Linked DNA regions of Homo sapiens: regions 2, 3, 4, 5, 6 and 7 are each linked to region 1. Evidence: promoter capture Hi-C in 16 types of primary human blood cells and fetal thymus (Javierre and others, 2016). All regions are on one chromosome and are shown on one strand. The core of a region is centred on a gene start or on the middle of the fragment in contact, and the rest is flanking DNA. Distances in the headings are between cores, read along the strand shown. Region 1 holds the start of DLEU7-AS1 (DLEU7 antisense RNA 1). Region 2 overlaps SPRYD7 (SPRY domain containing 7). Region 3 has its middle 13 kb from the start of SPRYD7. Region 4 holds the start of TRIM13 (tripartite motif containing 13). Region 5 holds the start of KCNRG (potassium channel regulator). Region 6 overlaps DLEU2 (deleted in lymphocytic leukemia 2). Region 7 overlaps DLEU2 (deleted in lymphocytic leukemia 2).

Region 1 (4,324 bases), core at 1,192-3,691:
AGGCTGGGCCAAATCCCAAACCTGGGGGAAAAATAGCTTCAGGAGTGAATGCCTACAACCACTGAAATTCTTAAGAGAATTTAGCTTTTTAGCTTTTTTTTTTTTTTTTTCCAGAATTTCTTTTCCGGAAAGTATAGAGAATGAGGATGGTAGAGGACTCATCACTATAGTTTCCTCTCTTTCCCCAACATCCACAGACGTATCAATGGTCTGAATGTAATGTCCTCTTAAAATATGAAGCAGAAAATGGGTTAGGTTAAAAAAAAAAAAGTGCTACCCCAAGCATCATGAGAAAGCTGCTTCTGTTGTTGATCTGTTCTTGTCCCTGCTGGCTCAAAGGATCATGTGTGACACTGTGTCACAAACAGAGTCCCTAACGTGTTTACTTTTCCCTGACAAATACTATAAATTTTCTTCTTGTGGTGAATGAACATTGTTTATGCAGCTGTGTTCCTTAAATCAATACTGACTTTCTGTCCCACTGTATCTTTTTTGCAAAGACACTTAAGGAGAACTTTCTCCTGGCATTTGGGGAGAACTTTTCAAGTCAGACCTCCTAATTAGGAACAATCATTGTGCACTGGATCCACCAAAAAGAAAAAAGTGTTTTTGGCCTGGTTAAGTGTTTCCATCTTGGGTTACAGCCTTCATCTAAAGCAGCTTCTCCCTTGGCCTGAATGGGCTTTTCCGTGGAGACAGAAGGTAAGATTGCATGCTGGCTGACCCAACAGAGATCCAGAACAAACTCTCAGGAAATCTCAACCCCTCAGGCAGTTGAATTCTCACTCCTCTGAGACCAGCTGAGGTTATTTTACTTCATTTAACTAGCCAGATGATAGGTTGACTGATGGGGCCATTATGTCCGGCGTCAAGTAATTTTAGAATGAAAATTATGCAATAGGTTAGACCACAGCTCAATTTTTATCACCCCAATTGCATACAACGTCCCTAATGTGATTGCCTTTGGGCTAAGATGGAAAGAAATGTTCAGTCCCAAAGTGGCTATATTTTCTGGAATAGATTGAGTGAAACGTCTCTTTTTTTCAACCAAAACACATGGAAATAAATTTCTTCGGTTTTACTTTCTAAATATCTGGTACAAGGTAAAAACTGCAGTGATTAATATGTCCTATGGGGCTGCCGGTTGGTGAGGAAAGGTTGTCAAACTTTAGATAACTCCACCAAGTTGCTATTATCATTTTTAGGCCTGGGTCAGTCAAGTAGGTAGACAAGCTTCTTGACATGTGGAATTGACTGGGACACTGGTAATTGATCCTATTTAAGAAAATGTCCTCAACGCAATGATTTTGCTTAAGTACCTTCTTATTTTAAATGTACCCCAGGACACCATAGTTGTTTCTCTCTGTGGCTTTTTAATTTCCCTTTTTGTTCCAACTGACCTTTCTAAGTTTTTTTTTTTCCTTCTGAAATAAAGAATTCTAAACTCATGATTTTACAGAAAAGCTCAGTTTGCAAGAATATCAGCAATTTCTTATTTAAATATCTTCTACTATACCCAATTGCTAGAGCATAACTCTTGGCTCCTAAACCCAATTTATAAATCAGTCATCCTTTCCACCCCTACTCACCCCAAATTTGTTCTTCTTCCTGGTGTTGCTGTCTTATTTCTTGGCACCCTCATCTACTCAACAGCAGCAGAAGAAAAGAAGAAACTTCATAGTTGGAGGATCTTCCTTCTATCTATTTATTCATCCATTCACTCAACACATATCTGTGTCAGATACTGCTCCAGGTACTAGAGACAAGCATGTACAGGACAGATATGGAACTCTGTTCTCACAGTGATTATACAGCGATTATATTCAAGTACATTTCTTCTAGAAACACTTGGTACTTCTTGCAGGGACCCCCAACCTCATATAAGTATATATACTTAAATATGTCTAACAGATCTTGATATATTACATATTTAAGTAAATAATGATAGAAAATGAATATTCTTACATGGATGCCCCAATTTCTTTCAGCTGCCTCAGATACTCACTGGATAGTGATAGCCAATGATATGCCAGACTTGATATTGATTGATAATGTTATGGCCCCACCAGGGAAGGTTAGAAGAATGGAAGCTGCTTATTTCAAATTTGAATGAGCAATCAAACATTCCTGTTCTGATTAATGTTTTTTTGCCTTGATGCACATATAAGAACTGGGACTAGCAGAAAGGGTTTAGCTTAGGACTGTGGAGAAATGCTTTTCTTCATTTCTGATAAAGCTCCATTTGCTGTTTGATCCTGTCTTCTTGATCTCCCAAGTTCCTGATAAGTCTACAAAGCTAAAACACTCACAGTTTGATCATTAGTAGTGTAGATCTTCCTCTCATTCAATGGAAGTCTTCTCTTGGAGGTCAGCAGTAAATGTCTCATTGCCGTGACCCACTGGTCAGTCCTTATGCCTCTTCATCTTTGCACATGCTGATCCCTTTCTCAGAAAGAAAGTCCCTTTAGCCAGGCATCATCTCCTTTGAGAAGCTTTCGCTGACCTCAGACTGGAGAACTCTATTATAGCATTTGACACTCCCCACAAAGGGGAGAACAGTAAGTTGCAGTCTGATGAAGTCATATGATGCCCGGGCTGGCTTATGAGTAAAGAGGTGAGAAGGTCTCCTACTGAAACAGATTTTCCCTCTTTCTTCCCCTTACAATAGCCTTTCAAAGTTCTTGAAATGTCCATTAAGGAATTCCTATACTTTACTTTTGATTTCACAATTTCTCAGTCAAAAGCTCAATATCATTGCATAGGATAATACATTACCTTAAAAAAAAAAACACCAAAAAAACCTCAACACTCAAAGATTAAATTTGTGTTTGGAAAAGGCTTTATAGGCAGTGGTACCTGGAAACTGGTGCTTGAGAGAAGCAGGAGGAGGGAGGGGAGATGTCAAATACCATCTTTTAAAAAATTTGTTTGTTTTTGATGACCATCTTTAAGAGATTTTTAAATGCCATGTATGAATTCAAGAAAGAGAATAAAGCAGGATTCTAAGAAATAATAGAAAGCTTCTTAAGGAAGCCGGTATAGTATCATTTTATATCTCTGATATTTCTGCTCATCTACTAAAGCTCATTAAAACCTATTAATGATTAGGAAATACTTATGTTTTATGAAATGTATAAAAAAATTTAAAGATAACAATCTAAACTCTCTTTAAAAATTAATTTTTATATATATCTTAACACCATTTAACACACTTAATTTTAGTACTTCTTTACTAAAGTTTGCGGAGGCAGACTACTCTTAAAAGTAGGAAAAAAAAAGGCAGAGGAGCAGACCGACTTTTTTTTTTTTTTTTTTTTTTGAGAGGGAGTCTAGCTCTGTCACCCAGGCTAGAGTGCAGTGAGTCTAGCTCTGTCACCCAGGCTGGAGTGCAATGGTGCGATCTCTGCTCATTGCAACCTCCACTTCCCAGGCTCAAGCAATTCTCCTGCCTCAGCCTCCCGAGTAGCTGGGATTACAGACTTCTGAAATTCTGAATAGTATAAATACAACTGGAATTACACTTTATTTTTAAATATACATTTCTAGGTAAAAACATAATTAAAGATCAAATAATTTTGGTTAAATTTTAAAATAAGCCCAATATGTAACTAAATAAGTCTTAGCAGAAAAATGTGAGGATAAAGTTGAGATTGCTCCTATTTTTTAATATTTATAGCATTTATTTATTTGTAATTACTTGTGAAGTTTCAAGTATTAAATATTACTCCGAGCTGTCTAATATGAGTCAGAATTTAGGGCAATAGAAAATATAAAACAAATTTTTCCTTACTAATACATGTTTTTTAAAAAGTTGTGTTTATGTTCTTCATTGAGAACTAAATAATCACTAAAAGAATTGCAGAAGTCATAAAATCATTAAATTAAGGAGAGAAAATCTCTATATATTCAGGATAAAGACATTTAGTATGCTAAGATCTCTATCCAATGGTCAAAAAACAACCAACCAAAGATGAAAATAAAAAATAATTTCTTGGAATATTATCTGAGGACTTCCAATTTTAACATGCAGAGCTAAGTGAGTATTTTCTTATTCATATCTCAGAAAAACCAACCAAAACATCAAGGGAATCAAGAAAAACAGTAATGCAAAGCTTATCCTTTGTAAAACTAGGAAACAACAGAGATTTTTAAATGAGAGAGAGAGAAGACTTAGTGGCATAGGACATAGGAAGTACCAGAGTGAAGATGCCTGTGGATTCTGAGCTTCAAGAAAGTCATAAAAGCACAATTCTAAGTGATACATACTGAAATGTAAATGGAGGTTTTTACAATAGAGGGCAGCAAACCACTTCTTATACAACCA
Region 2 (4,324 bases), core at 981-3,480, 880 kb after region 1:
GAATTACAGCATTTTATCAGAAATGTTCATCTTCATTAAACTTAACCTAATTAAACTCTTCAGAGAACGGAACTCAAAATCCTAAAGCTTGATCGTAGAAAAGTTTTTTTTTTAGAAAGCAGAGGATAGTAAAAGTTACACGTTATTAAGACTTTTCTGTTTTTACTCCTAACTGGCTATATTTAACTCTTTACAAAGCTAGCACATTGAAAATGTAATCCAAAGATTTCTTTCTGTCTTTTCCAGATACTTCCTTCCACACTGCATTATCCAAAACCCCTCCCTATCCAGAGGTCAGGCCATTGATTTAGAACAGAGTCCTAGAGTCTCCTTCAGCCGAGGTGCCCTTGTACACTGAACCTTGGGTTCTCAATTCTGATATCAAGTTGAAAGGAATCTATGAATAATGAGAGAAGGATTCTAATAAGATGAAAAGATAAGAGAAATCCAGGTTAATTAATTATGAAAAGGTACAGTATTTTAGAAAGAATGAAGAAAGGTGTGGAAATTAAGATTTTTAATTACGGCCTGATCTTTCTTCTCTTTTTTGCAATTTAAAAAATATGAACAACTGTAAGTTTTTAATTGTTGGAAGTTTTTTTTCCAGAATTGACTAAAGAAAAAAAGGAGATGAAAGGCATAAGCCATTAAAAAAATCTGCTTTTTCCCATGCTTTTTGAATAGTTGGTTCTGTATTTGTAGATCATTGCCAGATGCCCATAATATGGAACATCCTTATTCAAATGGTAATTTCTTGAAAGAGAATCTTGAAGTCAAGTTGATGCTGTCAACCTGTTTACCCTAAAAGATGAAATTCAAACATAAGAAAGGATAATCAGTAACAAATGTTTTTCTTTGTTGATGAACTGAAACTTCTACCTGCCTTCCTATCTCATTTCATTCATTGTAATGTCTGATAGCACAGTGTGACAGACTGAAGAATGCCACTTTTAGTCTGTCAGTGTTGTTAAATTAGACTTCGAGTTTTCATATGAGCTCATTCTCATAAAAGGAGAACTAAAACTATGAAATACATGCAGAGCCAAGAAAAGAAAAACATTACCCTGCTATTTTAACTAGTTCAAACACTGGAGAACAAATTTTACCAAATTGTTAACAGTGGCATGCAATAAGTAGAATGGATTATAAGACAGGAAAAGCATTCTCATGTGTTTAGAATTTAAGTCATGTACCATTCTCTGAGGAGAAATCAAGAAAAATAAGCTGTGAACATCTAACCAAATGATTATATGATTATATTCATATGATAATCACCCAGTACAGCACGGCCTGCTACAGAACTAGAAAGACATACATGAAACAGTTTATGCTCACTTTCTCCTTTTTTTTTTTTTTGTTTTCAGATGGCCACTCGCTCTGTCACCCAGGCTGGAGTGCAGTGGCGCTATCTTGGCTCACTGCAAGCTACACCTCCTGGGTTCACGCCATACTCCTGCCTCAGCCTCCTGAGTAGCTGGGACTACAGGCGCCCGCCACCACGACTGGCTAATTTTTTTCATTTTTTACTAGAGACGGGTTTTCACTGTGTTAGCCAGGATGGTCTCCAACTCCTGACCTCATGATCTGCCCACCTCGGCCTCCCAAAGTGCTGGGATTACAGGCGTGAGCCACCGTGCCCGGCCTACTTTCTCCTTATACATATAATTCTGAAAAGTACAAATTTCATTCTAACATGCATGTATCAGTTTACTTTTAGAGAAGTCTTATAAACATTCTATGTAATAATAACAATAACAAACACTTCTAAGCATTTATTTATTGAGATGGAGTCTCACTCTGTTGCCCAGGCTGGATTGCAGTGGTGCCATCTCGGCTCACTGCAACCTCCACCTCCTGGATTCAAGCGATTCTCCCGTCTCAGCCTCTCTAGTAGCTGGGACTACAAGTGCGTGCCACCACGCCTGGCTAATTTTTGTATTTTTTAGTAGAGACGGGGTTTCACCATATTGGACAGGCTGGTCTCGAACTCCTGACCTCGTGATCCACCCACCTTGGCCTCCCAAAGTGATGGGATTACAGGCATGAGCCACCGTGCCCAGACCTAAGCATTTATTATGGGCACTGCTCTAAGTGCCTGGCAAGGATTAAATTGTTTAATGCTCATAATGGCCCTTTGAAATAGGTATTATTATTATTATTATTATTATTATTATTATTTATTTATTTTTTTTTTTTGAGATGGAGTTTTGCTCTTGTTGCCCAGGCTGAAGTGCAATGATGCAGTCTCGGCTTACTGCAACCTTCACCTCCCGGGTTCAAGCGGTTCTCCTGCCTCAGCCTCCTGAGTAGCTACAATTACAGGTGCCTGCCACCATTCCCAGCTAATTTTTTTGTGTTTTTAGTAGAGACAGGGTTTCACCATTTTGGCCAGGCTGGTCTGGAACTCCTGACCTCAAGTGATCTACCCACCTCGGCCTCCCAAAGTGCTGAGATTACAGGTGTGAGCCACCACGCCCGTACGGTAGTAGTATTATTATCCCCATTTTACAGATTAAGAGAAATTAAGTAACTTCTTATGTGAGTTAATTACAAGACTATATAGCTCAGCCAGATACTATGGCTCATGCCTGTAATCCTAGCACTTTGAGAGGCCAAGGCAGAAGGATCCCTTGAGCTCAGGAATTTGAGACCAGCCTGGGAAACATAGTGAGACCCCATCTCTACAAACAAACAAACAAATAAATAAATAAATAAAATTTAAAAAGAAAATTAGCCGGGCATAGTGGCATGCCCCTGTAGTTCTAGCTACTTGGAAGGCTGAGGTGGGAGAACTGCTTCAGCCTGGGAGATAAAGGCGGCAGTGAGCCGTGATCCTGCCGCTGCACTCCACCCAACCTGGGCCACACAGAGCAAGACCTTGTCTCTGGCCGGGTGCGGTGGCTCACGCCTGTAATCCCAGCACTTTGGGAGGCCGAGGTGGGCAGATCACCTGAGGTCAGGAGTTCGAGACCAGCCTGACCAACATGGAGAAACCCCGTCTCTACTAAAAAAAATACAAAAAATTAGCCAGGCGTAGTGGTGCATGCCTGTAATCCCAGCTACTCGGGAGGCTGAGGCAGGAGAATCACTTGAACCTGGGAGGCGGAGGTTGCAGTGAGCCGAGATTGCGCCATTGCACTCCAGCCTAGGCGACAAGAACGAAACTCTGCCTCAAAAAAAAAAAAAAAGACCTTGTCTCAAAAACAAAAACAAAAACCAAGATCATACCTGAAGCAGTCTAATTTCAGAATCTGTTCACTAACCTGCACACAATTATTAATAAAGACATAGAACACACAGTATATTTTGCTATCATTTTGGCAGAATCAAACCCAGTTTCTTCATCATAGAATAGATTAGGTTAGAAAACACTTGAACTGGCCCATCACAGTGGCACATGCCTGTAATCCCTGCACTTCGGGAGGCTGAGGCGGGCGTATCACACTGAGCCAAGGTCGCGCCACTGCGCTCCAGCCTGGGCGACAGAGTGAGACCCAGTCTCAAAAAAAAAAAGAAAGAAAATACTTGAACTAAACTATACTGAGGGTGGGACTTCTCACATCTTTCCTCACTTCTTTGGTACTGGGATTTTGCTACTGCAGGCTTGGGTTTAAAACTTGCTTGTTTGAGGCTGGGCGCGGTGGCCAACGCCTGTAATCTCCGCATTTTGGGAGACCGAGGCGGGCAGATCATTTGAGGTCAGGAGTTCAAGACCAGCCTGGCCAACATGGTGAAACCCCATCTCTACTAAAAATGCAAAAATTAGCCAGGCATGGTGGCGGGCGCCTGTAATCCCAGCTACTGGGGAGGCTAAGGCAGGAGAATCTCCTGAACCTGGGAAGTGGAGGTTGCAGTGAGCCAAGATCATGCCATTGCACTACAGCCTGGGTGACAGAACGAGACTCTGTCTCAAAAAAAAAACAAAAAACAAACTTGTTTGTTTGCAATCGGCCACTGGGGGATGAAAGTGCCTGGATTACAACCTCACTGATCTGAACTGCTAGATTTCTGGTAGTCCCATAATGAGAGTAACATACTTTCTTTTTTATGTAATTAAGTTTTTGTTTTTTAAAATGAAAACAGACTTTTTCATTAGAAAAGTGAATCCCAGCCATCAGCTAGCTTTATTACTATTATCTAAAGACATAAACTAAAGCGAAGCAAAGGCAATCTATGTACTATTTATCTTTCTCAGTATTCCTTAATTATTAATAATTGTTTAAGTTAACCCTGGCTTTGCTAAGAATTGAGAATCTTTCATACCACTTACCACATTAGCTTCTCTGGGCTTTTGCTGTCTTGCTTGTAAAGAGAGAGAATTTAA
Region 3 (4,324 bases), core at 676-3,175, 860 kb after region 1:
CCCCTTGTTTAACATATAATCAAGAAATAACTATAAAAATGGGCAGCCAGCAGCCCTCAGGGCTGCAGTCTAAGGGGTAGCCATTCTTTATTCCTTTACTTTCTTTTTGAGATGGAGTCTCACTCTGTCGACCAGGCTGGAGTGCAGTGGCGCAATCTCAGCTCACTGCAGCCTCCACCTCCCAGGTTCAAGCGATTCTCCTGAATCAGCCTCCCAAGTAGCTGGGACTATAGGCATGCACCACCATGCCCAGCTGATTTTTGTATTTTTAGTAGAGACGGGGTTTCACAATGTTGCCCGGTCTGGTCTGGAACTCCTAACCCCAAGTGATCCACCCACCTTGGCCTCCCAAAGTGTTGGGATTACAGGAATGAGCCATCACGCCCAGCCAAGATGGGTGGATCACCTGAGGTCAGAAGTTCGAGACCAGCCTGGTCAAAATGGTGAAACCCCATCTCTACTAAAAATACAAAATTAGCCAGGCGTGATGGCTCATGCCTGTACTCCCAGCTACTTGGGAGGCTGAGGCAGGAGAATCGTTTGAACCTGGGAGGCAGAGGCTGCAGTGAGCCAAGATCACACCATTGCACTCCATCCTGGGCAACAAGAGTGAAACTCCATCTCAAAAAAAAAAAAAAAAAATCTCATAATGTTTTAGGAAAGTTTACAAATTTGCAAATTTGTGTTGGGCCACATTCAAAGCCATCCTGGGCCACATGCAGTCTGTGGGCCACAGGTTGGACAAGCTTGTTCTAGAGGCTGTCCACATTCCTTGTTCCACAACACTCCAACCCCTGCTTCCATCATTACATATCTGATCATCCTACCTCCCTCTTATAAGGACCCTTGTGATTGATTATATTGGGCTCACCAGGAATAATCTGAGATAATCTCTCCATCTCAAGATCCTTGACTTAATCATTTCTGCAAAGTCCCTTTTGCCATATATTCACAGGTTCTGTGGTTTAAGATGTGGAGATCTTTGGGGGTCATTATTCTGCCTAACAGGTGTGAATAATTATATTTTTTACCCCGATTTTTTTTTTAAGACAGAGTCTTACTCTGTTGCCAGGCTGGAGTGCAGTGGCACGATCTTGGCTCACTGCAATCTCCACCTCCCTGGTTCAAGTGATTCCCCTGCCTCAGCCTCCTGAGTAGCTGGGATTCCAGATGCCTGCAACTACTCCCAGCTTATTTTTTATATTTTAGTAGAGACAGGGTTACACCATGTTGGTCAGGATGGTCTCAATCTGACCTGGTGATCTACCCGCCTCGGCCTCCCAAAGTGCTGGGATTACAGGCATGAGCCACCGCACCCGGCCTTACCCCAATTTTTAAATAAGAAAAAAAAAAAATCTATGAGCAATAGATAATAGATTTCAAAACTGTGCAATGATAATGAAAAATAATTTGAAATTTGGCTTCTCTAAGCTTGTCAAAGGAAGTTATTTTAAGACTTTGTTCACTATTTGACATTATTGTAGAATTTTTTGGTTCAATGAAAAATTAAACACTGAAGTTAAAATATTGTAAAATTATATGACATATCTTTTCAATATATTGAAAAGTTGAATGAGCTCTTTTGTAAGTGCCAGAAAATGAGAATAATCTCATTAAAGTGAAGGATATTATCATGGAATTAATTAGCAAATTTACATTATTTTAAAATAACCTTTTCTTCAAGATTTTTAAATTTCACCCATCACCTGAGCATTGTACACTGTACCCAATGTGTAGCCTTTTATCCCTCACCCCTCTCCCACCCTTTCCCCTGAGTCCCTGAAGTCCATTTTATCATTTTTTATGTCTTTGCATTCTCATAGCTTAGCTCCCACCTATGAGTGAAAACATACAATGTTTGGTTTTCCAGTCCTGAGTTATTTCACTTAGAATAATGGTCTCCAATTCCATCCAGGTTGCTATAAATGCCATTATTTCATTCCTTTTTATGGCCGAGTAGTATTCTATGGTGCATATATATACATTTTCTTTATCCAGTTGTTGATCGATGGGCATTTGGGCTGGTTCCATATTTTTGCAATTGTGAATTGTGCTGCTATAAACAGGCATGTGCAAGTGTCTTTTTCTTGTAATGACTTCTTTTCCTCTGGGTAGATGCCTAGTAGTGGAATTGCTGGATCAAATGGTAGATCCACTTTTAGTTCTGTAAGGAATCTCCACACTGTTTTCCACAGTGGCTGTACTAGTTTACATTCCCACCAACAGTGTGAAAGTGTTCCCTTTTCACCACATCCATCTTTTTGATGGGACTGTTTGTTTATTTTCTTGCTGATTTGTTTGAGTTCCTTGTAGATTCTGGATATTAGTCCTTTGTTGGATGTATAGATTGTGAAAATTATCTCCCATTCTGTGGGTTGTCCATTTATTCTTCTAATTATTTTTGTTCTACAGAAGCTTTTTAGTTTAATTAAGTTCCATCTATTTATCTTTGTTTTTGTTGCATTTGCTTTTGGGTTCTTGGTCATGAAGTCTTTGCCTAAGTCAATGTCTACAAGGGTTTTTCTGATATTCTCTTCTAGAATTTTTATGGTTTCAGGTCTTAGATTTAAGTCTTTCATCTATCTTGAGTTGACTTTTGTATAAGGTGAGAGATGAGGATCTAGTTTCATTCTTCTACATGTGGCTTGCCAATTATCCCAGCATCATTTGTTCAATACGGTGTCCTTTCCCCACTTTATGTTTTTGTTTGCTTTGCCAAAGGTCAGTTGGCTATAAATATTTGGCTTTGTTTCTGGGTTCTCTATTCTGTTCCATTGGTCTATGTGCCTGTTTTTTTTTTTTTCAGACGGAGTCTTGCTCTGTTGCCCCGGCTGGAGTGCAATGGTGTGATCTTGGCTTACTGCAACCACCGCCTGCTGGGTTCAAGCAATTCTCCTGTCTCAGCCTCCTGAGTAGCTGAGATTATAGGCACGTGCCACCATGCCTGGCTAATTTTTTATATTTTTAGTAGAGATGGGGTTTCTCCATGTTGGCCAGACTGTTCTCGAACTCCTGACCTAGGTGATCTGCCCACCTCGGCCTCCCAAAGTGCTGGGATTACAGGTGTGAGCCATCACACCTGGCCTATGTGCCTGTTTTTATACCAGTACCATGCTGTTTTTGGTGACTATGGCCTTATAGTATAGTTTGAAATCAGGTAATGTGATGCCTCCAGATTTGTTCTTTTTGCTTAGTCTTGCTTTGCCTATGCAGGCTCTTTTTTGGTTCCATACAAATTTTAGGATTGTTTTTTCTAGTTCTGTGAAGAAGGATGGTGGTATTAATGGGAATTGCATTGAATTTGTAGATTGCTTTTGGCACTATGGTCATTTTCCCAATATTCCACACATCCATGAGCATGGGATGTGTTTCCATTTGTTTGTGTCATCCATGATTTCTTTCAGCAGTGTTTTGTAGTTTTCCTTGTAGAGGTCTTTCACCTCTTTGGTTAAGTATATTCTTAGGTATGTGATTTTTTTGCAGCTATTATAAAAGGGGTTGAGTTCTTGATTTGATTCTCAGCTTGGTCGCTGTTGGTGTATAGCTACTGATTTGTGTACATTAATTTTGTATCCTGAAACTTTGCTGAAGGAGCTCTTTGGATGAGTCTTTAGGGTTTTCTAGGCATACGATCATCAGCAAACAGTGATAGTTTGACTTCCTCTTTACCAATTTGGATGCCCTTTATTTCTTTCTCTTGTCTGATTGCTCTGGCTAGGACTCTGTCATTTTAGAAAGTTTATTTTGCAGGCCAGGCATGGCAACTTACACCTGTAATCCCAGGACTTTGGGAGGCCAAGGTGGGCAGATCACTTGAGGTCAGGAGTTGGAGACCAACCTGGCCAACATGGCAAAACCCCGTCTCTACTAAAAATACAAAAATTGGTCAGGTGTGGTGGTGCATGCCTGTAGTCCCAGCTACTCAGGAGGCTGAGGCAGGAGAATCGCTTGAACCCAGGAGGCAGAGGTTGCAGTGAGCCGAGATCATGCCATTGCACTCCAGTCTGGGCAACAGAGCGAGACTCCGTCTCAAAATTGCCAAGTTAAGGACGCACCCATCACACAGCCTCAGGAGGTCCTGATGATACGTGCCCAAGTGATCAGGGCACAGCTTGGTTTTATATATTTTAGGGAGACATGAGACATCAATCAAATACATTTAAGATATACACTGGTTCGGTCCAGAAAGGCAGGACAACTCCAAGGGTGGGGGGTCCAGTTACATGTAGATCATGTAGAAAAAAATTTTCTGATTGGCAATTGGTTGCAAGAGTTACTATGAATAGAAAGAACTGTCTGGGTTACATAAGAGGTTGTGGAGACC
Region 4 (4,324 bases), core at 807-3,306, 810 kb after region 1:
TGCAACCTCTGCGTCCCGGTTCAAGTGGTTCTTCTGCCTCAGCCTCCCGAGTAGCTGGGATTACAGGTGCACGCACCCCCACGCCCAGCTAATTTTTGTATTGTTAGTAAAGATGGGATTTCACCATATTGGTCAGGCTGGTCTTGAACTCCTGACCTCAAGTGATCCACCCACCTCAGCCTCCCAAAGTCACCGGCCAGGAGCTGCTTTTTATTAAAGGAAAATTCCACCGAGAACTCTTTTACCCTTTCTAGCTGCCTAAAAGTAATTTCTCAACTCCTGTGTGATGTGTGAGAATTCCATAAACTACGAAACTATACAAACATAAATAAGGTTTAATTACATATGGCAAACTCTACACATTTAAGGTGTTATTTTGGAGCATCAGTGTATCAAGCAAGAAAAGGTTCTAAACTTGAACTGTGATTTCAAGGCAAGGCAAAACAAATATTACATAAGGTATCAGGTACAAAGCAGTGTCATGAAAATGAGCATATCTGAACAAAAGCTGTGACAGAATTAAGGCCAGATAACCTATCATAAATGTATAGAATGAACAGAACAGCCCGGTTTTAGGAAAGGACTTCCCAGGGAGGTTTAGTAAGCCAGCTGGGAGAAAGGAAAAAAAACGTATTTTTAGGGAGGGATAGGGACGCTCCCATTGTGCAAGAAGGAAGTATAGCCGGTTAACAGCTCCATCAAGTTCTACTAGAAGGAGTGCCTATGTAAATGAAATTCTGCTTTTAAAGTGCCTATTATATAAAGGTCTCTAGAAAACTCAAGCCCTGTTCTACAAGCCCTAGCAGCCTGACAATTCACTAAGCATAGGAGAAGGGAAAAAAAAGTAGGAAAAAAGTGTGGAAGCCCCTTTCTTCCTTTGTAATATGAATGTTTGGCTATATTTAAGATAAATACCACATAAATAATTGCTAAACGTGAATTCTGTTTTTCTAAGTTTTAACAAAATATGCAAAGAACAAAGACCACCAATGAAAGTGGATGGGAACATACGTATTCTACACACAGTTCCATTTTGGAAGGTTCTAGGGCCTATTGAAATTGGGTGTTTAAAAAAAAAAGATAACACAGGAAAATTATTGTAGTTTACCTCTGTCTCCTACAAGCTGATGTATTTGGCAGGGTTACTATTTCCCAGGGCAAAGCAGGTCTTTTTTTTCACGTTTTGACTAACGAACTAGAGGCTACTGCAAAGAAAGAAGAAAAAGAACAGTATTAACGCATTTATTTGCACAGCACCCCAATCTTGACCCTCAATTTTTTCAATCGCCCCCACAAATAAAGCCCGGCTGTTTAGACCTGGTGAACCGCCAGGAGCCTGGAGCTCTTTGTATTAAGCAGCTTCTCGGTTAGGGCGCCCTCCCCCGGCGCCATGCAACCAAACGCTGGCGGCGCGCTGTAACCTAAGGCCCACACCCGTCTTTTCTTTTCTAGGGGATGTGGAGACGCTGGTAGCGGGGCCAGGAAGGCTCCGGACGGAGCAGGTTTTCTGGACCACAGACACACTGCCCCGGCGCCCTCCGCAGGCCGCTCCTCCCCAGGCCCATGACAGTGCCCCGCTGGTTTCTGCCGCGCTGCCGGACTGGAGCTCAGACGGCCTTCGCCAGCCCCCCCAACCCACGCAGATCCCTGCTGACCTGGGCAACTCCCCACCCTCGCTGAAGGTTCGAGGACCACCCCGCTTTCCCGAGAGGAGCCGGGCGGCGGGTACTTATCTCCGACCTCCGGCTAGTGGGAAAGGCCGCGCGACCGCCCGTCCTCCAACTACAGGGACCGCACGGTACGCGCCAAGCACAGCCCCAAAATGGACTCGCGGCTCCGGCTAGCTCCGCCCCCTTCCCTCTCCCGCTTCCCCTTCCCCTCCCGTCCCTTCCCCCTCCCCTCCCGTCCCTTCCCCCTCCCCTCCCGTCCCTTCCCCCCTCCCCCTCCCTTTCCCCTCCCCCTCCCCCTCCCTTTCCCCTCCCCCTCCCCCTCCCTTCCCCGTCGCCCGCCTCCGCCTGCACCTCCGGCCCCGCCTCCCCGTCCCGCTTCGCCTGTGTCCCGCCTCCCCGGCCGCGCCTCGCCTTGGCGGAGGGAGCCGGGTGGTGAGACCGCGTTCCTTCCGGCGTCTCCAACCGCCGCCTGCTCCCGCCGTCCACCCGCGCGGGCCGCCTGGGACGGGGAGGGCCGGGCTGCGGGCTTTTCTCCCTTCCAGAGTCCTGCGCCCGCCCAAAGCCCCCCCGCAGAGGCTGGGCAGCGGCTCCGGGAAGTGGACGCCGTTTGCCCAGACGGTGGGCTCGACTGAAGCGGCGCGGTCCCGGGTGGGGCCGCCCGGGAAGAAAGTCTCCCAGTTAAGCTGCCGTGCAATTAAGATGGTTGGGTTTGGATTGTTGTACTTTTTTTTTTGTTCGTTGCATTTTTAGGAACAAAAAAAAAAGCCCAACCCTTCACACCACTTCATCCGCATCTCAAGACCAGAAGCCGACCCCAGCGGCTTGGGGAAATGGAGCCCCGCACCCCACAAGGGGGAGGGTGGGACGGGCACCTCCGCACTGCGCGGCCTGCGGAGTCACCGATTCGCGTTGGGAGCGCGCCAGGAGCGCCAGGGCTCTAGCCGGGGGCTCCGGGCAAGGCGCAACCAGAAAAGGGTTCAGTATCCCCCATCACCCCCACCCCCAACCGTACCCTCTTTCTTTGCGGGCTTTAGGCAGGACACCAGAGACCCAATTCTATTTAAAATTCTCTTTTAAGAAAAGGAACGCCTGTTTTTGCCTTTGGGGGAAAGGATGAACTTTCAAATTGGCTTTAAATTATCCACCACTAACAGTTACTCAGTCGATAACCTGACTATTCTGACGTCCACCTCCCGTTTGAGGACCTTGCCCAATAGCAAACGTACTAAGCACTTAACCAGTGAACGGTGTGAAGGATGCAAACATGGATGATGAAGGAATGGCTCCTCCAGAATTTACGATCTTGGGAGAAGTGAGGCGAGTATAGAATCTCAGAACACGCTGTAGGATTGAGTTCGATCCCAGTTGAGGAAGTTTGGGTTTGGGGAGGAAATAGGTTATTTTGGAGAAACGGTATTCAAAACCTACCATAAATAGCAGTACAGCCCGTTGACTAATAATGCTTAGCCCAACCCCCGTAAAAAGCCCCTGGCCACATCCGTCTCCTGAGATTCCCACTTCTCTGTGTGCATCTCCCTTCCTGCTATAAGAAACCTAACTTTGCCTTCGTAGAACACTTCTTTTAATTTCTGTCATTCAGTCTCATAACACTGTGTAAAAGAAATTATGATCTTCATCCTATATAGATGAGAAAACAGGTGAAGTGACTTTTCCAAGGTACAAAAGCAAGAGGCAGAGCTGAGGCTAAAGGCAGCTTCCAGATATGGGCTCTTTCTACAGCACCATAACTGTCAGTGACAAAACTGCACCCCAGTACCTTACTAAATTTAGTGTTTTTAGGCCAGGCACGGTGGCTCACGCCTGTAATCCCAGCACTTTGGGAGGTCGAGGCGGGCAGATCACCTGAGGTCAGGAGTTCCAGACCGGACTGACCAACATGGTGAAACCTGGTCTCTACTAAAAATACAAAAATTAGCCGGTCATGGTGCCGTATGCCTGTAGTCCCAGCTACTTGAGAGGCTGAGGCAGGAGAATAGCTTGAACCCGGGAGATGGAGGTTGCAGTGAGCCGAGATCCTACCACTGCACTCCAGCCTGGGCAACAGAGCAAGACTCCGTCTCAATAACTAAATTAATTAATTAATTTAGTGTTTCTAAAAAAACAAAGTGATCTGTAGAAACATCTCATTTATTTGTTGTCATTGTGTGTTGATTGATTTTGAGACAGGGTCTATCTCTGTCCCCCAGGCTGGAGTGCAGTAGCATGATCATGGCTCACTACAGCCTCAAGCCCCTGGGCCCAAGTTATCCTCCTCCCTTAGCCTCCCAAGTAGCTGGGACCACAGACATGCGCCACCACGCCTGGCTAATTTTATTTTTTGTAAAGATAGAGTCTCACTATGTTGCCCAGGCTGGTGTCAAACTCCTGGGCTCAAGTGTTCCTCAGGCCTCAGCCTCCCAAAGTGCTGGGATTACAGGCGTGAGCCACCACACCCAGCCATATGGAAACATTTCAGATATCCTAATATTAAAATGATATTTCACAAGACTGGACAGTTATTAACTCATGTGAAAGGAAAATCTTGGGGCCCCAAAATCACTAAGCTAAAGGAAAAAGTCAAGCTTCGGAGAACTGCTTAGGGCAAACCTGCCTCCCATTCTATTCAAAGTCATCCCTCTGCTCACTGAGATAAA
Region 5 (4,324 bases), core at 1,247-3,746, 790 kb after region 1:
TGAGGGGTAAATCATATTGATAGAACAAACTGAATAAAGTGAATGATACACCAGACAATTAGGCACCAATTAGGCTCACTTCTCCATTTTCCAAACCTACCAAAAAATATCTGAATAGACAGATAGATTCAGACCAGGGAGTGAGCAAAAAATAAAAATGATTGCTAATTAGGCAATTATATACTAAAAGTGGACCTTTTAAGGCCAGAGTTTTCATCCCAATCACCAGAGATCCCCATAATTTCACCGTATTCAGATTGGCTATCTCTACTTTTAAATTGGCACTGTCTAAAAATTCACAAACATTTATGGAATGGTAAAAATTTTGAGCTTCAAACAATTGAATACCATTTGGTGATGCAAGAAAATGCTAATTTTAAAAATAGCTTCTGATTTTGGAATTATGGAAGTCTAAATATAATGTTTTCTCACTTTAAAATGGAAAAAACTTTCGTGCTGTTTCTAAAACACAACATAAAAAGGGAAAACCATTTGGCACTGTGTACACACAGGAACATCCCAGTTTTAGTTTTTAATCATGTTTTTCAAGGAAACAATTACTTTCTCCAAATGCATGGTTTTTAAAGAGTACTTCGTATTTCCAGGACATCTTCTTTTGACCTAGTGTGTTTCTTCTTAAAAATCAATGACAGTTTTGTCTCTAGGTTTCTGACTTTTTGAAGCATGATCCCCAAAGAGGTCATAATCACTCATATTTTAAAAACCAAAAAAAATTTCATTTTTGTTAAAGTATCCCATCAATGAAAATAAAGTTGTACAGAGGTTTGAGATAAAGATAAGGTATTAGATTTTCTTCACAATCAGCCTACTAGCTTGACTGGCTCTCTTTTCCCAAAATGACATTTCAAACTCTTTTGAAGGACAGGAAGTTATAAAATGTAAACAATTAAGAATTGTCATACTCGGTTATTCTACCTAGTGTCCTCCAGTTGGTAAGCAAGACCAAGGAGTGTGTCGCTAAGAGAGAGAGACACTGGTATCCTTCCTGTTGGCTACTGCTCAAGTTAAGAAAATATCTTAAAATACGCCTACCTTTACCAAAAAAAAAAAAAAAAGTATATTTTAAATGATACCAATAAAGAACACATGCAGGCTTTTCTTTTCCTCCTAAAAATTAAAGCCAGCTTTCACAGTTGGTAAAATAATGGTAGGACAGCATTAAGACATTTTACGGGGGGAAAAATGTTTGTGACAGCAGAGTGGAAATCAGCGTTAGGATCCAGCCAAGAACAACAGAGGGAGTAAGTGAAGAATTGACTCAGGAGCAACTATCCTTAACATACTGACAGCCTATCCCAATATTTTGAGTTGTTTAAGAGCCAAGGCTGTAACAGGATACCAAATTTGCCATGAGATATATCTGTCTTTAAGGGTGTTTAAAAATAAAGTCAGCTGAAGGAAAAACAGTAGTTGAATCATAAAACTGAAAGAACAACTTATATAGTGTGTAAGGAACTCAAGAGAAACCAGTGAGCGAGCCTTTATGTGAACCACTGAAACAATCTCTTAAAAATAAGGCAATTCTTTTCTAAGTCAAATTCATTAGCAATGGAACATAATCTACAAAATTATTTTCTCCCATGATTTGAATGTCCATAGTCTCAGTTTTTTCTGGGCAGTCTTCATTTATTCCTTTTGTCCCACCTAATAATAGCCCCTTTCACTCTAAAAAGTATCCCAGTTTGGAAAATAATTATTTGGTCATTCTACCCAACTCCACTGGTTACCCCAAAACATTATTTTGAATAATCATCTTTTCCAGAAGTTACAGGCCTGAGGAACTTCAAGTTTTTAGAGAAAACATCACAAACTGGTATACAAGAGAAATACTGCAAAGTACAAAATACCTGACTCCAGTTTGGTTATCAGTAGTGCTGTCAGAACCACACTGGAAAACCAGGTCATGGTAAGAAGGTCTTTGTGGAGGCAGTGGAAGTAAGGTCATCTGAGGAGGGAAAAAGTTACCATTCCAGGTCGGCGCTGAAGGTTGTTCTGTAAACACTGTAATCCTCCCTGTTAGCATCTCAATTGTTTTGCTGCAAGAGCCAAACACCCTGAAAAAAGCTTGAGTGTTCCGGCTTAGGAAATGTACCTCCACAAGAGCAGGTCTTGGCTGTAGCAGGTATGGGTTTAAGAGATCAACTAGAGAACGAAGTTCATAGAAAAGAGCCTCTCTCTGAAGCCTAAGATAGTCTGAAAATTCAGTGGGTAATAAAAGCTGGTGAGTTCTCAAAAAATCTAAGATGAAACTAAACAAATCACCATCTCTGTCTACAAAAATCTGGCCACCAACCATCTTGAATTCTTGGTCTCTGCCATCTAACATGCGTGCCAAACGAGAAGCAGGAAACTGCTTTATCGTAGAAAACCTTGTCGTGAATATCTTCCCTCCCACATTCAAAGTGACCAGTTCCTGACTACTCATTCTTCCCTCACTTCAAACTAGAGGCTACCATCAGCCACACTTAGGAAATCAACCTATAACCATAAATGTTGCTAGTTATACATGATTATGCAGTGGAGGGGAGGGAAGAATAACAAAAACCAGACTTAGATTCCCAGGAAACTACTGTAAGGTAAATAGTGTATCCATGGCTGTGTTTGCAAATTCGAGTTGCCTGGGAACTTGCAGTATACAAAATGAAAAAGCAACAGATGAGGAACTAAATAGCTTAAGGAAAACTGCCAATATATCTGAAGATAGACATCAAATAGATCCCTTTCCTGTCTTACATTTAAAAACTTATCCATGAAAACCTAGTAAAACTATATATATATATATATATATATATATATATATATATATATATATATATATATATATTTTTTTTTTTTTTTTTTTTATTACTGGGAGGGGAAAAGCATTCTCCCTCCCCATACCTGTCTACCACGCAGAGGCTAGACTTAAACGTTTTTCTTAATTTCTTATGATCTCCTTAGAAATTTAGTGGCTAAATCATGAATTACATGTTAGGAATGAGACAGCCTGGCAAGCTCAATTTGACTATTCTCATAGCTAGAAGGAAATCATTTCTTCTGTGCTTTAAATTTAGTTGCCACCTTTTATCCTGTCCCCATTTTCATTACCTCCTCTCAACCAAATTAGAGGAGGACTGAGGTAAAGAACTCTTATTTTCAGAAAGTCTATTCCACTTAATGGGCTTTCAAGGAATATCTTACTCTATGACACAAATAAGGCAGACTAGAGAGCAGTTATAAGGTTACTTCTTTGTTATATGAATTCTAAGCAAGGTGTTTATTCCATGAGAGGGTATCTTTATCTCTTGTGAGCAGACAGAACAGCATTAGTGTTCAGCTGATTACTTTGTAATAGCTGACAGACTGTTTTATCTGTTGTCAAATTAGTCTTAACTACACTAAACATTCTTTCTGTAAGCAAGTGGATTGGTTTGGTTGTACACTTGCCATCTTTCGAACAAAACAACACATAGCTGCCAGAAAAAAGGTAGTCTTCCCATTTCCTGCTCTTGCCATGTGTTCTATATATACATATATATGTATATATATGTATGTGTACATATGTGTGTGTGTGTGTGTATATATATATATATATTTTTTTTTTTTTTTTTTTTTTTTTTTTTTTTGGTAGAGACTGGGTCTTGCTATGTTTACGAAGCTGGTTTCGAACTGGAACTCCTAGCCTCAAATAATCCTCCCACATCACTGTCCTAGAATGCTGAGATTATAGACATGAGCCACCCTGCCCAGCCAGCTGATCCTTTTTTTTAACCTATCTATGCTTTTGCTTGCATAGCCACTTAACATTTCTAGTTGATCATCTTTGGTGAAAACTACAAAAACAAAGGAGAAAAGGGCAGATTGAAAGCTCCACTCTCCTAAAAATGTAAACTTATCACAAGAAAATGCCAGGTTTTGTATGTACCATTCACATTTTGGTGATAATTAACTCTCTGTAGAAAATTTTGGAAATCTAATTAATTAGTACCTTCAATACCTTTAGTTGTCTCCCACACACGCGTGTGTGTGTGAAATCTTCTACAATATCTTCCCTTTTTTAGACCATGTTCACTGTCAAAAAGGTGCTTTAAGAGCAGTCTTTGGCTGGGCACGGTGGCTCACACCTGTAATCCCAGCACTTTGGGAGGCCGAGGCAGGCGGATCACGAGGTCAGGAGATCAAGACCATCTTGGCTAACAGGATGGTCTTAAGGGACAGTGAAACCCTGTCTCAACTAAAAATACAAAAAATTAGCTGGGCGTGGTGGCACGCGCCTGTAATCCCAGCTACTCAGGAGGCTAAGGCAGGATAATCACTTGAACCT
Region 6 (4,324 bases), core at 470-2,969, 770 kb after region 1:
CTGCAAACTAAATAATCCAAATTCTAGACATAGAATTTTCTTAATATTTCATGTCAATTTAAAGATCTGGACTTATGACAAGGCTTAATAACAATCACTAATTTCATTCTATCTCTTCTAGAGCAATAATGGTAGTGTAGCAAATTCCTATTCATCCTTCAGTTTTTTAGGTATTACCTCAAAAGGGCAACCCCATCTCCCACATATATACACTTGTGTTAAAAATTAATAACTGCTGGCTGGGCACAGTGGCTCACGCCTGTAATCGCAGCCCTTTGGGAGGCCAAGGCAGGAGGATCACCTGAGGTCTGGAGTTCGAGACCAGCCTGGCCAACATGGTGAAACCCCATCTCTACTAAAAATACAAAAATTAGCCAGGCATGGTGGTGCATGCCTGTAATCCCAGCTACTTGGGAGGCTGAGGCATGAGAATCACTTGAACCCAGGAGGCGGAGGTTGCAGTGAGCTGAAACCATGCCATTGCACTTCACCTGGGCAACAAGAGCGGAAGTCCATCTCAAAAAAAATAAATAAATAACTGCCTTTTCTGTACTATCACCCTTAAAACAGTCTCATTATTGCTTATGTTAAATCATCACATGATTTACATGCTTCTATATTTCCCTGCTATTAGCCTGTAAGGCTAATAAGCTTGAGCCCAGAGGCTGTCTTATTGAACTCAGGTCATTTGGTGACTAGTAAATAGGCTGGTAACCTCATATACATTCAGTAATATGTTAATTCTCTGATTAAAAAATACATTGATATCAGTATTGGTATGGCTACTCAGAAATTATCTTTTCAGTAGAATTCTAGCCTCAATTAGATCAAATTTATAGATCATCAACATCACAGTTTCATTAAAGGATCAGAGGAAAAAAATGAGAAGCATGAAATGGTACTTGCCAAGTACAATAATGTAGTTTTGTGTCTAAGATAAGTCTTTGTAAGGGCTCTATTTCTCACTGAGATAATGTGCCAGCTGAGGAATAAATTTTACAACACTTCTTTTACCTCCTTGGTAACAAGGACAAGAGAAACCTTGACAATATATCTGATGTAAATCTTAAGTCTCTTAGCAGACTAAAATGGATTCCCAGATGTTTTTTCTGAGATGTTGCAAGAAGGCACTGCAGAGGTCAGGAATTCCAGTTAGTTTTGCTACTAGCTCAAGATACAGGGTTTTTAAGGTATTAATTTGTAATACTTTCTAAAAGTATTTAATTGCTGTTTTTTCCATTTCATCATCCATCTGGTTGGCCCTATGGTTTCTCTACAGTTTATTCCTTAAGAAAACTTCAAAATCCAAGGCAACCTTGCTTAGGCTGATGAATTCAAATTAGCTTGTATGTTAGAATCCAACAAGAACAGGAATTAATAACTTCCTCTTTCTACCTCATTAAGAAACTATTTCATTTGTATCTGTCCCACCTGAATTGTAAGGCATGACCCTTTTTCCTAGCATTGCGTTTGTGTTTTTCCCAGCATCTGAATTCTACCTGCCCACCCAGACCCACAGTACTCTGCTTCTGGATCTTGCCTACCTAAATCCATAGCATTCAAATGCTTTGCCCTGAAATCATCTGGCTTTTGGACTACACTGGGAAATCATCTGGCTTCTGGACGACTTTGTATAGGGACCCAAGTACATTTCCAAATTAGGCCTTCCATAGAGAGAACTCCTTTTTAAAAAAGTAGTTGAGAATTCCCTTTTTTTTTTTTTTTTTTTTTTTTAGACAGTCTTGCTCTGTCACTCAGGCTAGAGTGCAGTGGCCTGATCTTGGCTCGCTGCAATCTCTGCCTCCCGGGTTCAAACAATTCTCCTGCGTCAGCCTCCCAAGTAGCTGGGATTACAGACACACACCACCGCGCCCAGCTAATTTTTGTACATTTAGTAGAGACGGGTTTCGCCATGTTGGCCAGGCTGGCCTCGAACTCCTGACCTTGTGATCCACCTGCCTCGGCCTCCCAAAGTGCTGGGATTACAGGCATGAGCCACTGTGCCCAGCCTAGTATTATAATCTTTTATATAAAATTGTGCTGCTTATTTTTCATTTTAATGTATTCATTTAGAATGTATAATTTTACAATTTGTGGTATCTACTATATTTTAGCTAAACAGTTTTCTTCCATATATAAAGAAAACAAAATGAAAACATCTGACACAGTAGATGATATCTATTTGAATTAATAATGATTCAATCTGACTTATTTAGCATGGCAGTTTTAAAAGATAAATCTTAAGAATCCTATTTCCAATAAACAATCTTAATCTTAGGGCCTTCTCTGTTTTTCAAAGTATTTACTTTTCATATTCAGTATTTTTGTATTTAGCTTCTCTCAGTTGAAAAGATAAAAGTTCTCATAGAAATAGTAAAGTGAATTTTTTAGATTAAATAATCCTTTTTCTAATCTTTCAATTATCTTACTTGCTGTTATGGGGGAAAATGCTTTAACCATAGGAATGTCTAAAGAAATAACTTAGAATTCATTGAAGAATTCATACAAGAATTAAGAATAATATGCAAAAAGTAAAAATATAAATTAGAAGTGAAAATGTTCATTAGATTAATTTGATGATTCTTATGTTGAGAATCTATAAGTTATTTTCTGCATTGCCCTCATTTTTAAAGTCTCAAACTGGTCAATTATGTGTGTATAGCTATTCATTCATCCAACATGTCTCTTTGTTCAGAGGCACTTGCCTCTGTTGCTAGTCTCTTCAGTTTCATCAGGATGCATTTTATTAAGATAACAGTTGAGCATGTACAAGAAGCTAAAGCTTACCCACACGTTTAGAAGGCCATGAAATGAAACAGAATAAAAGATTATAATGTGTTATAATAAAATTCATATTTGTGATTATGCTAAAGAAGTATTTAGGTAGCTTGGTAACTTTGCCCGAGAAATGACAGTGTAAACAGAAGCTTAAACTGTTCCTGTCCCAGAGAAGTTAATTGTGGTCATATTCAAATACTTGAGAATTGGCTCTGTCATTGCTTAGTTGAAAGACCTTAAGTTACTGTCTTTCTCTAAGCCTTTAAATTTTAAATAAGATATTGAACTTGGCTCTGTCTTGTCCCAAATTTTTATAATCCTAGAAGAGAGTCAGCCTTCAATATATTCATTTTAGAGATATTTAGTATACTGACATATTACTTAAAATAGCAGATGGGAAAAATTAAATATAATCTCATAGATTTATGTGGAAAATTCAACATCATCTTAGAGTTCTGGAAATTGTGTTTAACTTTACCATTTATAGAAACTATGTTAGATTTCATTTCTCTTACTCTTTGTCAGATCGACACCTTGACTGTGTGAGACGTGATTAACAAAAAGGAAAACTACCCCCACTGGAAGTTGTTAAAGGAAAGGCAATGCAAATGAAAAAAAAGAAAAAGAATTTCTAAAAGTTTTATCAGACAAAAATTTAATTGAATCAATGGGGCAATCTGGAGTTCTGGATGATTCTGTTAATTGAAGTTTACAATCACTTTTATTTTATTTTTATTTATTTACTTATTTTGAGACAGAGTCTCACTCTGTTACCAGGCTGGAATGCAGTGGCGCGATCTCAGCTTACTGCAACCTCCGCCTCCCTGGACCAAGCGATTCTCATGTCTCAGCTTCCTGAGTAGCTGGGATTACATGCGTGCACCACCACACCCAGCTGATTTTTTTTTTTTTTTTCTTTTTGAGACAGAGTCTTGCTCTGTCGCCCAGGCTGGAGTGCAGTGGCGTGATCTTGGCTCACTGCAAGCTCCGTCTCCTGGGTTCACGCCATTCTCCTGCTTCAGCCTCCCGAGTACCTGGAACTACAGGCACCCATTACCACACCTGGCTAATTTTTTGTATTTTTAGTAGAGACGGGGTTTCACCGTGTTAGCCAAGATGGTCTCAATCTCCTGACCTTGAGACCATCCTGACCTTGTGATCTGCCCGTCTCAACCTCCCAAAGTGCTGGGATTACAGGCATGAACCACCGCGCCCGGCCGTTTTTTTGTTATTTTTATAGAGACGGGGTTTCACCATGTTGGCCAGGCTGGTCTCGAACTCCTGACCTCAGGTGACCCGCCCGCCTCGGCCCTCCAAAGTGCTGGGATTACAGGCATCAGCCACTGCACCTGGCCTAGTTTTTAAAAAAATTTTATTTAACACCTGTAAAGCTTCTGGAGTATAATCATTTTAAACCTTGTTTGAATATTTTCTAAAACATTAATAAAAATGGTAATATTTCAATATATTTTCTTGCCTTAATAAAGTATATGCTGAATATCATTACATTTTATAAATAAAGACATACCTTATTATCAAGTCTTAT
Region 7 (4,324 bases), core at 679-3,178, 750 kb after region 1:
AGTAATTTACATTCATTCATTTTCCAACCCACTTACTCCACTTTGGGGTTGCAGGTGGCTGGAGCCTATCCTAGAAGCTCAGGATGCGAGGTGGGAACCAACCCTGGATAGGATGCCATTCTATCACAGGGTGTCCTCCTACCCCGACACTCAGCCATACTGAGACAATTTAGATGTGCTAACTAACATAACATGCACATCTTTGGGATGTGGGAGAAAACCCATGCAGACATGGGGAGAACGTGGAAACTCCACACACTGTGGCCCCAGACAGAAATCTCTATATTTTTCCTCTTCAGTATTAAAAATGAAACAATGTTGAATGAAACATCATTTGAAGATCTGTTTATAACTTTGTTCTCTGGCCCTAGATCTACTGTCTAAAAATTGTTTTTATGTCTTTTCTCTAAGCTGTACATTCTGAGGTCCTTCCACTGTTGCCATATAGCATTAATTTCTAGACCATATTTTTTCTAGACCATATTAATTTCTAGACCAATATTTTCTGGATACCCTACTTTGGATCTGTTACATTTTGTTAGTATTCCTTTTTAAATAATTGTATTTAGAATTAATTGCAATATACTTAATGTAGTATAGGTACAAAACACACTGCATCTATGAATAAAGTTCTATAGTGCAGTCTGATTGCACTAGCTTTTTTTTTCATCAATACTATCGGGTCATGTTGAGCTGCAGTTCACTGAAACACTTAAGTGTGTTAGAATTTCAAATCCTGTAAATTTAGATTCAGTAGGCATTTGTTGAACACCTGTTCACTACTAGATGTGCTTGTATAAATTTCTGCTGTTTATTTTACTGATAGTAAGTTTAAAATGTAGAAATTGACCAGTAGATTTATTGTACTGAGGATGATTCTGTAGTTTAGGAGACATGACTAGAATTTCAATGAGAACAGATTGTAAGGACAGAAATAAATAAATAAAAAGAATTTCTAAATGATTTTGTTAAATGCAATAACAACTTTATGTAAACTACAGATGAACTGATAATAGAGCACATGTAAGAAAATGTCTAAAAAATGTTATTGGAAATAAAATTAGAGCTGTAAATCATTAACAAGGAAAAAACATTAACTTATATACAATTTATTTTTTCCATATTTCTTAAAATATATTAAATTCTAACATAGAAAACCAACTTAAGAGATTTAAAGATTCCCATCTACTCAGATTTATTATATTCAAGTTGAATTATTAAGCAAGACATTTAATTTACTTATTTTGTCTCACCTTTCAATATAACTACTTTTTTTTTGTTGGAAGATTATAAGAATGGAGAGTTCTGGTATATCAAAGGCCCACAGCCCAGAATATAAACCACCAGACTTGGAACTATGGTTGTTGTGTAAAGGATAAGGACTGAATGATTCTGTCTTCAGAATATTTTTGTATTTTTTTTTTTAGAAGCTCTTTTCTTTGGCTCTACATCTAGCCATTAGGGCTCTTTCTGTATCTGGTTAGGCAAAGTGGCTTTTCTTTCAGCCAGCAAACGTAAAAGCAGAGATTTAAGGGATGGAGTCATGATGATATTTCCAGTGGACTAAGATAAAGGATTGAAGAAATGGCATGGTCTATACTAGTAAAGATTTCCTCACAGCTAGTCCATTTTGAATGGAGAGATAAGTATGGAATAGGGAACCAGTTATCTGCCCAACACAGTACCTAATAATGAGAATAATTTTCTGTATTCAAAGGTTCTTAGTGGTTGTTAATGTCTTAAAAGAGACCATTTAACTGGAATGGAAGTGTTTTCTTTGGAGAAAAGCAGGAAACATTGGATAGATCTTAATTATACAGACCTTGATACTTAGGCAGAAAGTAGAGATTCTACTTAGGAAACTAGAAATTACTTTTTTTTTTTTTTTTTTTGAAACAAGGTTTTGCTCTGTCACCTGGGCTGGAGTGGAGTTCAGTGCAGTGGCATGATTATGGCTCAGTGCTGCATCAAACTCCTGGGCTCAAGTGATTCCTCCCACTTCAGCTCCTGAGTAGCTGGTATTACAGATGCCCAGCTGATTTTTAAATTTTTTGTGTGGGGGTGGCTAAATGATGAGAGCACATGGACACATAGAGGGGAACAACGCACACTGTGGCCTTTTGGAGGATAGAGGGTGGGAGGATGGAGAGGACCAAGAAAAATAACTAATGGGTACTAGGCTTAATACCTGGGTAACGAAATAATCTGTGCAACAAACTCCCATGACAGGCCTGGCATGGTGGCTCACGCCTGTAGTCCCAGCACTTTGGGAGGCTGAGGTGGGTGTATCACTTGAGGTCAGGAGTTTAAGACCAGCCTGGCCAACATGGCAAAACCCCATCTCTACTAAAAATACAAAAAAGTTAGCCCGACTTGGTGGCGCTGGCCTGTAATCCCAGCTACTCGGGAGGCTGAGGCAGGAGAATCACTTGAACCTGGGAGGTGGAGGTCACAGAGAGCCGAGATTGAGCCACAGCACCCCAGCCTGGGCAACAGAGTGCAACTCTGTCTCAAAAAAAAAAAAGCAAACAAAAAAAAAAACTCCCATGATAAAAGTTTACCTACATAACAAACCTGCAGTTGTACCACTGAACTTAAAATAAAAGTTAAAAAATAATAATAATAATTTTTTTTTGTAGAGATGGGGTGTTGCTATGGTGCCCAGGCTGGTCTCTCAAATTCCTGGGCTCAAGCAATCCTCCGACCTCAGCCTCCAAAAGTGCTGGGATTACAGGCATGAGCTACCTCGTCCAGCCTAGATACATTCTTGAATATGTAACTTTGGGAAGATTTATTAATTGATTAAGGACTAGGAGGTCCAGCTAAAATGCAATTGGATTTATAAGGTACTTAAATCCAGATTTAAGGTATGAAATCAAGAATGGCGAAGAAATCAATGAACTGAGGTCTTAAAGAATCAATTCATTTTATTGACTAGCTGAATACAAGGGATGATTGACACAAGATGAAAATTGAGTGTTAAGAAAGAATAACAATGGGCAAGTATGAATGATTAGGACATAAAAGGGAGCAAAAGAAGAATGTAAGAAAAAATGTAAATAGCATATTTATCAAACCTTTTTATATTGCATTTCTTGACTAACATGATATATTTGTAATTTAGTCATACTTAGTATTTAGGAAGTAAAGTCATCAAATAAAATATGAATGTTTGATTTCTAAGAAGTTTAACTTTTTGTATAAGGAAATGATTATAAGAGAATCTAATATTAAAATAACATTTGGGGGGCTTATATATATAGTCTGACTTTCTGGAATAAATTTTCCAGATTGAAATCTACTTCATACACAGTTTTTAAGCAATCTTTCAGTCATTTTTTCATCAGAAGAAATCAAGGCAGTTTAGAAACAGTAAAACTTTATATTTGCCTAAACTCAACAACTAGGTTTTTTATATTATAAAACAGTCATGTTGGATTAAATCTGATTATTATTTTATTGAATGCGTATTCCTAACACTGAATTTTAAAGCTATCTTCTCTAGTTAATAGAGCCTTTTTGTTTTTAAGTATTTATATTCCAGAAACAAGAATCAAGCAAAAGCACATTTTAATCTTTCCTGTAAATGTTATATATTTGGACACTTTATAAGACTTCATAGTAGGGTAATAAAAAAATTACCATGTTTCGCCAGGCATGGTGGCTCATACCTGTAATCCCAGCACTTTGCGACACCAAGGCGGGAGGATCATTTGAGGCCAGGAGTTTGAGACCAACCTGGCCAACATGATGAAACCACGTCTGTAAAAAAAAAAAAAATACAAACCTTAGCTGGGCGTGGTGGCACAGGCCTGTAGTCCCAGCTACTTGGGAGGCTGAGGTGGAAGGATAGCTTGAGCCTGGGAGAAGGAGGTTGCAGTGAGCTGAGATCACGCTACTGTACTCCAGCCTAGGTGACAAAAGAAGACTCTGTCTTAAAAAAAAAAAAAAAATTACCATGTTTAGTGAAATTGTCATGCATTTATTTTAGACCCCATAACTCAGGCCTTTACGTAAAGGTATTGAAGAATAGCTATTTATAAATTTTCTGTCTGGTATAATACTGACATACTGTGTATTATTCCACTGTCATTGAGCAAGGATAGTCATTCTGTGGCCGAGGCACTGTATATACACAGTTCCTTAGAGCTTCAAGTGCAGAATAGAAGTAAGGCATATTTGGAGGAAGTAATTACCATTACAGATTGTGTTGATGCTGGATTGAAAGTAAAATTAAATGTTCAGAAAACCTAAAGTAACATAGTGCCATACAAGGACATGTCTAAACAACAAACTAGCAAAACCATATTGATGGCATGTATTA

Evidence for each region. Contacts are between HindIII fragments. The CHiCAGO score rates a contact against its expected background, and 5 or more counts as called.
Region 2: a fragment that was not itself captured here is called in contact with the fragment with the promoter of DLEU7-AS1 in region 1 in 2 of 17 cell types (total CD8 T cells and total B cells); the score reaches 6.0 in total CD8 T cells.
Region 3: a contact is called between a fragment that was not itself captured here and the fragment with the promoter of DLEU7-AS1 in region 1, in 7 of 17 cell types (total CD8 T cells, total CD4 T cells, activated CD4 T cells and 4 more). The highest score is 10.1, in total CD8 T cells.
Region 4: a contact is called between a fragment that was not itself captured here and the fragment with the promoter of DLEU7-AS1 in region 1, in 10 of 17 cell types (total B cells, naive B cells, naive CD8 T cells and 7 more). The highest score is 14.0, in total B cells.
Region 5: the fragment with the promoter of KCNRG here is called in contact with the fragment with the promoter of DLEU7-AS1 in region 1 in 12 of 17 cell types (naive B cells, total B cells, monocytes and 9 more); the score reaches 18.6 in naive B cells.
Region 6: a contact is called between a fragment that was not itself captured here and the fragment with the promoter of DLEU7-AS1 in region 1, in 7 of 17 cell types (naive B cells, total B cells, neutrophils and 4 more). The highest score is 10.6, in naive B cells.
Region 7: a fragment that was not itself captured here is called in contact with the fragment with the promoter of DLEU7-AS1 in region 1 in 3 of 17 cell types (total B cells, naive B cells and monocytes); the score reaches 11.2 in total B cells.

Annotation. Positions count from the first base shown.
Region 1 is chr13:50,805,972-50,810,295 of GRCh38, reverse strand. It overlaps DLEU7-AS1 (DLEU7 antisense RNA 1), which reads right to left and starts at 2,441. Exons shown (of 5, transcript NR_046551.1): 1 at 2,310-2,441; 2 at 1,590-1,756. It also overlaps a transcript of DLEU7 not described here. The HindIII fragment of the contact is 1,259 bases long and covers 1,236-2,494 here.
Region 2 is chr13:49,922,849-49,927,172 of GRCh38, reverse strand. All of the region lies in intron 3 of SPRYD7 (SPRY domain containing 7), which reads left to right. Among named protein-coding and RNA genes, the nearest start is that of SPRYD7, 11 kb to the left of the region's middle. The HindIII fragment of the contact is 4,281 bases long and covers 90-4,324 here.
Region 3 is chr13:49,947,468-49,951,791 of GRCh38, reverse strand. No RefSeq gene overlaps it. Among named protein-coding and RNA genes, the nearest start is that of SPRYD7, 13 kb to the right of the region's middle. The HindIII fragment of the contact is 984 bases long and covers 1,434-2,417 here.
Region 4 is chr13:49,994,548-49,998,871 of GRCh38, reverse strand. It overlaps TRIM13 (tripartite motif containing 13), which reads right to left and starts at 1,830. Exons shown (of 2, transcript NM_213590.3): 1 at 1,109-1,830. It overlaps DLEU2 (deleted in lymphocytic leukemia 2), which reads left to right. Exons shown (of 14, transcript NR_152566.1): 11 at 1,453-1,798. It overlaps MIR3613 (microRNA 3613), which reads left to right and starts at 2,371; the gene lies at 2,371-2,457. RefSeq lists silencers at 2,094-2,223, 2,814-2,863 and an enhancer at 2,404-2,533. The HindIII fragment of the contact is 4,396 bases long and covers 1-4,254 here.
Region 5 is chr13:50,013,616-50,017,939 of GRCh38, reverse strand. It overlaps KCNRG (potassium channel regulator), which reads right to left and starts at 2,496. Exons shown (of 2, transcript NM_173605.2): 1 at 1,869-2,496. The coding sequence starts at 2,446. TRIM13 (tripartite motif containing 13) reads right to left here. Exons shown (of 2, transcript NM_213590.3): 2 at 1-4,324. The region is part of intron 10 of DLEU2 (deleted in lymphocytic leukemia 2); the gene reads left to right. The HindIII fragment of the contact is 12,687 bases long and covers 2,088-4,324 here.
Region 6 is chr13:50,030,665-50,034,988 of GRCh38, reverse strand. The region is part of intron 8 of DLEU2 (deleted in lymphocytic leukemia 2); the gene reads left to right. Among named protein-coding and RNA genes, the nearest start is that of MIR16-1, 16 kb to the left of the region's middle. The HindIII fragment of the contact is 2,131 bases long and covers 654-2,784 here.
Region 7 is chr13:50,056,386-50,060,709 of GRCh38, reverse strand. All of the region lies in intron 5 of DLEU2 (deleted in lymphocytic leukemia 2), which reads left to right. Among named protein-coding and RNA genes, the nearest start is that of MIR15A, 9.3 kb to the right of the region's middle. The HindIII fragment of the contact is 8,216 bases long and covers 1-4,324 here.